Linked DNA regions of Homo sapiens: region 2 is linked to region 1. Evidence: promoter capture Hi-C in human tissues and cell types (Jung and others, 2019). All regions are on one chromosome and are shown on one strand. The core of a region is centred on a gene start or on the middle of the fragment in contact, and the rest is flanking DNA. Distances in the headings are between cores, read along the strand shown.

The links. Contacts are between HindIII fragments. The study calls those that stand out against the background at their distance.
Region 2: a contact is called between a fragment that was not itself captured here and the fragment with the promoter of TEKT1 in region 1, in 1 of the 25 tissues and cell types used here (psoas muscle).

The regions. Positions count from the first base shown.
Region 1 is chr17:6,828,694-6,833,607 of GRCh38, forward strand. It overlaps TEKT1 (tektin 1), which reads right to left and starts at 3,036. Exons shown (of 8, transcript NM_053285.2): 1 at 2,956-3,036; 2 at 1,494-1,700. The coding sequence starts at 1,683. RefSeq lists a silencer at 2,999-3,048. The HindIII fragment of the contact is 13,856 bases long and covers 1-4,914 here.
Region 2 is chr17:6,784,191-6,789,260 of GRCh38, forward strand. FBXO39 (F-box protein 39) reads left to right here. Exons shown (of 4, transcript NM_153230.3): 3 at 2,590-2,766; 4 at 3,110-3,456. The coding sequence ends at 3,238. Among named protein-coding and RNA genes, the nearest start is that of FBXO39, 11 kb to the left of the region's middle. The HindIII fragment of the contact is 9,989 bases long and covers 1-5,070 here.

The DNA.
Region 1 (4,914 bases), core at 1,786-4,285:
TAGATAGTCGAGTTGGTTACCCCTGGTTAATCCCTTTTTGGCATTTAGCCGACGTTGGTTGTTTGTTTTGTTTTATGTTTATTTTTGTTTTGATTATTTAAGGATACTATCTTTTTTTTTAAATGTGCTTTCCTGAGATCTTTGCTAAAGAACGCTACCTTTTAAATACTGTTTTAGGCAGGGTGCGGTGGCTCGTGCCTGTAATCCCAGACTTTGGGAGGCTGAGGCGGGCGGACCACCTGAGGTCAGGAGTTCAAGACCAGCCTGGCCAACATGATGAAACCCCGTCTCTACCAAAAATACAAAAATTAGCCGGGTGTGATGGTGCACGCCTGTAATCCCAGCTACTCAGGAGGCTGAGGCAGGAGAAGCGCTCGAACCTGGAAGGCAGAGATTGCAGTGAGCTGAGATTGTGCCACTGTACTCTGGCCTGTGTGATGGAGCGAGACTCTGTCTCAAGAAATTTAAGTAAATACTGTTTTAAGTAAGGAATTGTCAAGAGAAAATGACTCCTTTTAAGACTCAAGTAAATGTTCTTCTCTAGAAAAACTTTTCCAATTTTTCACATCTACTCCGCCCCGTCTTTGTTCCCCTACCCCAGCACCTATCTGGTTATACACCTGTCCCTTGGTATCCTCAGAGGATTTGTTCCAGAGTCCCTGACAGACACCAAAATCCATGGATGCTCAAGTCTTTTATACAAAATGGTGTAGTGTTTTCATATAACCTATGCACATCTTCCCATATACTTTCCTTTTCTCTTTCTTTTCTTTCTCTTTCTTTCTTTCTTTCTCTCTTTCATTCTTCCTTTCTTTTTCTTTCTTTTTTTTTTTTTTATGAAACAGGGTCTTGGTATATCACCCAGGGTGGTCTCTAACTCCTGGGCTTACAGGATCCTACTGCCTCAGCCCTCCAAGTAGCTGGGACTAACAGCACATGCTACCACACCCAGCCAGTATACTTTAAATCATCTTCAGATTACTTATAATACCTAATACAATGCAAATACTATGTAAATAGCTGTTGAACTGTATTGTTTTTATTTGTATTCTTTAATTGTTGTAATCTTTTATTGTTTTTTTTTCCTAAGTATTTTGGACCTACAACTGGCTGAACCCATGGATACAAAGGGCTGACTGTATTCTGATGATTAATTTTTGTATCTTTATCCTCTTCAAGTTAGAAGCCCCTAAAAAGCAGAGATTCTGATCATTCCCTGTGATATGCCTAGTGTGTAGTACATAGATGCCCATAGATGCTCAATAACTGTGCATCAAATCAACAAATAAATGAATGATGGGTGGCTGAAAATCAGGCTGGGTTACCTTGTGTCTATCTTAGGGCAGTGAACTTAAACATAGAACCTGGAGAATACACATGATTTTCTCTAATATTCAAAAATAATATGTTGCCACATCTGAACATGACACTATAGCTAAACTCAACAGCCTCATCCTAGCATGTTCACGAATATGCCAAGCATGTTGTCTTACCTAGTTTCTTGTTCACATCGCTTTGAGATTTTCTTGTGGTCTTTTCAATTTCATCCACAAGCCTCTGGCTTTCTGCGACCAGGCGTTCTGATCGGGACCTTTGAGCGTCTGCTCTGTGGTACTGGTTCTTGTTAGCAATGTGCCACTCTGAGGGCAGGAACTTGGGTGGAGGTTGTAATAGTTTAGCCATTTGAGGTTTCCAAATTCCTGATCAAAAGCAGACTCTTTTAGATTAAATGAAAGCAATTTGTCCTTTTTTATGATAATTTTTATTCAAGGATGACATATATACGGAAAATTGCATAAATCATAATCTGTACACAAAATAAATCTATCTGTGTAGCCGGCACCCAAACCAAGAAACAAGCATTACCAGCATCTCTAACCTCCTCCCAGTTACTCCACCTCAAGCCCCTCAGGGTAACCAGTATCCTGACTTTTAACACTACAAATTCGTTTTGCTGTTTTTGAATTTAACATAAATGGAATAATACAGTATGTATTATTCTGTCTCTGACTTCTTTAGCTCAACATTATGTTTGTAAAATTCATCCATATTGTCTATATGATTGCAGTTTGTTCGTTCTCGTTGCTGTGTAGGTGCCGTTATATGAATAAAATCTAGCTGTCTTTTCTACTGTTTATGGATATTTGGGTTGTTTACACTCCAGGGCCATAATGAGAATGCTATTAATAGTCTCATACATGTCTTTTGGTGAACACGTGTATGCATTTTTATAACTCATTAGAATTGTTGGGTCATGGAGTAATGTTCTGCCAAACAGATGAGCCCAGAGATGTTTTCTTAAAAAAAGAAGAAGAAAAAGAAGAGGAAGAAGAAGGAGGAGGAGGAGGAGGAGGAGGAGGAAATGTAACATGTGTAAACTGACAACTGGGTATTGAACTTGTTCAACACATAAAAGAATCTGAAAACTTCCAGGACAAAGAAAAGGAGAGAACAGGAAGGGGAACAACACAGGGGAAGCCAGCTGGCAGAGGCTGTCGGCAGTGGAAACGCTAAAATTACCCATTTCATCTTCATACAACTCTGATGGACCATGAGAACTGCCTTCCTCAGACAGGGCTGAAATCTGCCCCCACTCCCATCTCTACCCTAAGGTCTGAGTCCCTGCTCTTAGGGGCCTCTGGATCTCTGAAGCCTTCACATATATAAGGATGAAACTAGAGTCAGATCTTGACTAGGCTGAGAACCTCAGCCCACCCAGCCCCCTCAGACAACATGGAGTTTCTCCGTTTCTTCCTAGCCCAGTCCCTTTTATGGCTTCTACCGAATTTATCTGAGTGTGGAGCCCAGCATTTAACCCAAGGCTCCTGGATAAGTCTGAATAGCCCCCAGAGAGGTGGGGACCTAAATTAGGGCTCATCCCAACGTCATAAGGATTTGGTTAGGCGGGGAGGGTTGCGGGTAGGGGTCGGTGGGGTGGGGTCATGGTTTACTTACCTCAGCGCCACACAGAACCACTACGCAAGCTCGGGATGGGAGCCTCCTTACCCCAACTGGAGCTTCCAGCTCTTGCAGAACAGAGAGGTAAACAACGCGGTCTCCATGACAACAAGTGACGCGTTGCCAGGGCAAAGAGGGCTGGTTCCGCCACTGAGCAGCCTGGCCAAAGGCTTAGCGCAGGCGCAAATTCTGCGGACCCCAGAGCCAGAGACCCAGGAGTGTGGCGTGTGGGAAGGGTAGGGCCAGATGCTCCGGCCACCTCAACCTACCGCGAAGACGCGGGGCACCAAGCAGAAGACAGCGGCCAAAGCCCCGAGCTGGGAGTCAGGAGACCTGCGTCTAGTCCGAGCCCTCCCGCGGGCGGGATCATCTCGGGTCGCGCTGTACCCCGGCTCTCAGACTTCCCGGCTGTACAGTGGGGTTGGGCTGGGCGATGCCTCCAGGACCTCGCAGTCGCAGGCGAAATTGAGGGTTAAAAATCAGGAAGCCAAGTTGATTGTTTCTGTAAGCTACAATGAGTTTCCTCCAGAGTTTGTATAGGTCTGTTACCACAACTGGCTTATTTCTGCGTGGGGCGCCCGATGGGGCACTCTGTGAGGGCAGGTGTGTGAGTAGAACGCCTTCAGGCAAACACTCCAGAAGTCACTCTGCATCCACTAGGAGATGGAAAATATGGGAGAAAAATTAAATCTGAGGGGATAGCTCCAGAAGATTTAATATTTGTCAAGTAGGACTTCCAGAAGGAAAGAAAAAAAGAGAGAGAATGGCAAAACAATTGTGAAAGTGAGAGAGAGATAACTTGAGCCAAAGACTCAAGTCTTTAGATTAACGACCCACCTGAAATTAACACACACCCCCATTCCTTACATATAGTCCTCCCTGTGGATTATGCATATAATCCATAGAGTGATTAGCTCCAGGATCCCCCTCAGATACTGAAATCTGCAGATTCTCAAGTCTCATATAAAGTGGTGTAGCATTTGTATATAACCTACGCACATCCCTAGATAGGCATACTTTACGTCATCTCTAGATTGCTACAATACCTAATACAATGCCTAATACAATACCTAATATAGTGCCTAATACAGTGCCTAATGCAATACATAATACAATACATAATACAACACCTAATACCTAATATAATACCTAATACAATGCCTAATACAATACCTAATACAATGTCTAACCATGCCTACTCATCGCTTCATTCGCATGGATTCAACATAGCACTCAGGGTGCAACAAATTCAAGTTTTGCTTTTTGGAGCTTTGTGGAATTTTTTTCCTGAATATTTTTTATTTGTGTGTCATCGCATCCAAGGATGTAGAATCCACGGATAGGAAGGGCCAACTTTATACCTATTCTGGTGGAATTTCTTAATTCAAAGAATAAGAAGAAAAAGAAAGAATAGGTATCAAGTGTTTCGTCTCTAACACAGGTGGCTAGAAATGATGGTTGCTAGAAATGATGCTAGGATAATGCCTTCAAATTCTATAGAAAATTATTTCAAATCTGGGATTCTACAACCAGTCAAAGCATTTCATGTATGAGAGCAAAATAAAAGATTTCTTTGGACATGCCAGTACTCAAAACGGTGAGCGTACATTCTTTATGGAAAAAAATAATAGAGCAAAAGTGAAAAATCCAGAAAGAAGAAGATACTGGACATAAGACATAGTGGAACCAACCCAGCTGTGTGATGAAAAGAAAGCTCGGTGTAATAGCTACCGAACTAAAAAGCAATGAGTCCAAATTACAACTAAAAGTCAAAAGAAGTTTTGAACAATATCTTTAAGAAGAGTTATACAAACTATGATTCATAACCCAGAAGTATAACCACATGGTGAGTTGAAATTATGTCTCTTCTGAGCAATAAAAAGTAGATAAATGATGACAGTCTCCGTGATGCATGCCTGAGGTGCCATCACTTGGAATGCCTGGGAGGTATGGCTT
Region 2 (5,070 bases), core at 2,413-4,912, 44 kb before region 1:
AAGCATTTGATAAAATTCAACATTCCTTCATGATTAAAACTCTCAAAAAACTGGGTATAGAAGGAGCATACCTCAATACAATAAAAGCCATATATGACAGACCCACAACTAGTATCATATTGAATGGAGAAAAACTGAAAGCCTTTTCTTTAAGATCCAGAACAGAGCAAGGATGCCACTGTTACCACTGCCATTCAACATAGTACTGGAAGTCCTAGCTAGAGCAATCAGATGAGAGAAATAAAGGGCACCCAAATAGAAAATGAAGTCAAATAATTCTTGTTTGAAGATGATATGATCTTATATTTGGAAAAACCTAAAGACTCCACCAAAAACAAAAACAAAAAAAACTATCAGCTAAACAAATTCAGTAAAGTTGCAGGATACAAAATCAACATATAAAAATCAGTAGCATTTCTATATGCCAACAGTGAACAATCTGAAAAAGAAATCAAGAAAGTAATCCTGTTTATAATAGCTACAAATAAAATTAAATACCTAGGAATTAACCGAAGGAATGAAAGATCTCTACAATGAAAATTATAAAATATTGATGCAAGAAATTGAAAAGGACACAAAAAAATGGAAAGATATTCTATGTTCATGAGTTGGAAGAATCAATGTTGTCAAAATGTTTATACTATCGAAAGCCATCTACAGATTCAGTGCAATCCTATCCAAATACCAATGACATTCTTCACAGAAATAGAACAAAGAATCTTAAATTTATATATATATATGTGTGTGTGTGTGTGTGTGTGTGTATATATATATATGGAACCACAAAAGATGCAGAATAGCTAAAGCTGTCCTGACCAAAAAGAACAAAACTGTAGAAACCACATTACCTGACTTCAAATTATATTACAGAGCTATAGTCACTAAAACAGCATGAGACTGACATAAAAACAGATTTTAAGCCCCTTATATATTCTGGTTATTTATTAATCCCATAAAGACCAATGGAACAGAATAGAGAACCCAGAAACAAATTCATTCATCTGTAGTGAACTCATGTTTGACAAAGATGCCAAAACCATACATTGGGAAAAGGACGATCTCCTCTTCAGTAAATGGTGCTAGGAAAACTGGATAGCCATATGCAGAAGAATGAAACTAGACCACTATCTCTTGCCATATATGAAAATCAAATCAAAATGGACTAAAGACTTCAATCTAAGACCTCAAACTATGAAACTGCTACAAGAAAACATTGGGGAAACTCTCCAGGGCATTGAACTGGGCAAAGACTTCTTGAGCAATACCCACAAGCACAGGCAATCTAAGCAAACATAGACAAATGGGATCACATCAAGTTAAAAAGTTTCTGTACAATGAAGGAAACAATCAACAAAGTGAAGAGACAACCCACAGGAAGAATGGGAGAAAATATCTGTAAGCTACCCATATCACAAGGGATTAATAAATAAACAGAATATACAGAGCTCAAACAACTCTATAGGAAAAAAAAATAGTAATCCAATTAAAAAATAGGCAAAAGACTTGAACAGATATTTCTCAAAAGAAGACATATAAATGGCAAAATAAGTATATTAAAAGGTGCTCAACATCACTGATCATCAGAGAAATGCAAATCAAAACCACAATGAGATATTATCTCACCCCAGTTAAAACGATTTTTATTCAAAAGACAGGCAATAGCAAATGCTGGAAAGGATGTAGAGAAAAGGAAATTCTCATACACAGTTGGTGGGAATTTAAAGTAGTACAGCCACTGTAGAGAACAGTTTGGAGGTTCCTCAAAAAACTAAAAATAGAGCTTACATATGATCCAGCAATCCCACTGCTAGGTGTATACCCCAAAGAAAGAAAGTCAATATATCAAAGAGATGTCTGCACTCTCATGTTTATTGCAGCACTGTTCACAATAGCCAATATTTGGAAGCAACCTAAGTGTCCATCAATGGATAAAGAAAATGTGGTACATGTACACAATGGAGTACTATTCAGTCACAAAAAAGAATGAGATTCTGTTGTTTGCAATAACATAGATGCAACTGAGGTTGTTATGTTAAGTGAAATATGCTAGGCACCGAAGGACAAACTTTGCATGTTCTCACTTATTTGTGGGAGCTAAAAATTAAAACAATTCAACTCATGGAGATAGAGAGTAGAAGGACGCTTACCAGAGGCTGGGAAGGGTAGTAGGGGGTGCAGAGGGAAGTGGGGATGGCTAATGGGTACAAAAAAAGTTAGAAAGAATGAACAAGATCTAGTATTTGATAGCACGACAGGGTGTCTATAGTCAATCATCATTTAATTGTACATTTTTTAAAAACTAAAAGAGTATAATTGGATTGTTTGTAACACAAAGGATAAATGCTTGAAGTCATGGATACTCTATTTACCCCATTGTGATTATTACACATTGTATGCCTACATCAAAATATCCCATATACCCCATAAATATATGTACCTATGTACCACAAAAATTAAAAATTAAAGTTAAAAACCCCCAAATCATCATGGCTATCAGGCCCAGAGCCAGGTCGTGGAAATGTTACAGAACAACTCAGCCAGGCTCAGCATCTCTGCCCACACACATCTTCCCTTTTGGTGCTCTTCCAGAAATTAACTTGTGAATTCAACAACAACCATGAGTCACTCGACGAGGAGCTGCACCTCCTCATCATATCCTGCAGGAAGTTGTTTTACTTCAAAATCTGGGCTTTCCTTGATGTTAGTTTTGTGGAGCGGATCCTGAAGAGTCAGAAAGAACGGCAGTGTGCCCTGCGTGTATTCAAGGTAAGAGGTCCCCAGGCTGGTTCCACGGCGTAGAGTGGGGGCATCCAGGAATGGTGCTTCTGCTCTGGAACGAAGGGCTGAATAAGGCAGTGGGGGACAATCATCTGTTCATTGAAAATCAGCAGTTTCAAAGAAGGGAATCTGGAGCTCTCTTTTCTAGTAGTTGGGTTTGGTCTTTTTCTGATTCTGCCAACATATTTTCCTGATTCAACAACTGTATGTGTAGATCATTTAAGTTGCTGTCAAGCCCTGAAAAGTGTAGTCACCGTGTGTGTGTGTGTATGTGTGTGTGTGTGTGCGTGTGTGCGTGCTCATATGTGGATGTATTTCTCTGTTGGCACAGGCGAGAATTTATACAAACAGATATGAGACGAATGAAGAGGACAAGACCCTGCAGGAAATTTACAGGAAGTACAGAAAGCTGATCGAATCAGAGCTTAGCTATTTTGTCATCGTTTACTCTGTGATGTAATGAGCACTCTACAGATGAAGAAAGCTGGGAGCACTTTGAACTTGAAAATCATTTCTCTTAGAACTACACTTGGGCACTGCCGGCCCTTTTGCTCCTCTCTCTCCCCTCCACTTTTTTTTTTTGTCAGCTCCATGACAACATGACCAGCTCAGCAAAGGCTGAGACTGCCCATGACCTGAAGGCTCCAGGTGGCTTTAAAGCGCTATGTTTACCAACTATCCCGGTGTCATTTCTCTTTTTGTCAGTTTTGCTTTTTGACACCCTCACTCGTCCACAGAGCTAAAAACCCAAAGCCACTCAGAGTAGCTTCCTTTTTTTTTTTTTGAGATGTGTTGACGAAAAGAGTCAAACTCTGTAAAATATTTTTAGAGATTTATTCTGAGCCAAATATGAGTGACCATGGCCTGTGATACAGCCCTCAGGAGGTCCTGAGAACATGTGCCCAAGGTGATTGGGGTACAGCTTGCTTTTATATATTTTAGGAGGCAAGAGACATCAATCAAATAGATTTAAGAAATATATTGGTTTGATTCAGAAAGGCGGGGCAACAAAGCAGGGGCTTCCAGGGTATAGGTAAATTTAAACATTTTCTGGTTGACAATTGGTTGAGTTTATCTGAAGACCTGGGATCAACAGAAAAGAAATGTTTGGGATGAGATAAAGGATTGTGGAGACCAAGTTTTACTGCGCAAAGGAAGCTCTCAGATAGCAGACTTCAGAGAGAGCAGGTTGTAAAATGTTTCTTATTGGAATTAGAACGGTCCCTGGCTCTTAGTTGATTATCTCCTGGAACCAGAAAGGAAGGAAGGAAAACAAAGGGGAGAGGAGATTCTCTACAGAATATGGATTTTTCCCACAAGAGACTTTGCAGGGCAATTTCAAAGTATGGCAAGAAAATATATTTTGGGATAAAACATTTTGATTTTCTTCCTTGTTATGCCAGAGTCAGATTGGAAAGTCACTATATACAGGGTTAACTAAAACCCATCTAATTAGAATTTATGGCTTGTAGGGCATGATTCCTCAGACCCCTTAGATAGGAATTTGGGCAAGATTTAAAAAAAAAAAAAATCAGAGCTTAGTCCTCAGACAGAGTCTCATTCTGTTGCCCAGGCTAGAGTGCAGTGGTGCAATCTCGGCTCACTGCAACTTCTGCCTCTCAGGTTCAAGCAATTCTCCTGCCTCAGCCTCCAAGTAGCTGGGATTACAGGCATGCACCACCATGCCCAGATAATTTTCGTATTTTTTGTGGAGATAAGGTTTCACCACGTTGGCCAGGCTGGTCTCCACCTCCTGGCCTCAAATGATCCACCTGCCTTAGCCTCTCAAAGTGCTGGGATTACAGGCGTGAGCCACCGCACCCAGCCCCAGAATAGACTCTTACTAGAGGACCCTGACTCTTGCTAACCTGTGCACCTGAAAGGGTGTGTGTAACCATTAAGCAAATAGAATCACATTTTCTACTGACCGACATTATCAGTTTAGAAATCCTTTGTATCCACTGACCTTCATTGGGGAGTCTGCTGACATTGACATTGTCATTGTCTGGGCCCAATCTCAGATGCATAGAAATCTCCAGCCTGCCCTTGGGTGAAGCAGGAAAAGCCCCACTTTTAGGAGGAGTCTGCTCAGAGCTGGAACTCCCTCCCACAGAAGGAACTCAGCCCCTGACTTAATGGCATCGTGGACTCGAATCTCCTTCCTCCGTTTTTCCTGTGTCTCCTTTATTTTTCCACAAATATGCTGAGACCGGGTCTGTGATGTTGAACATAGATGTGAATGGCCAAGTTTGATGGCCCCAAACCTGGCTTTTGGAGCCAGGTGTCTGGATG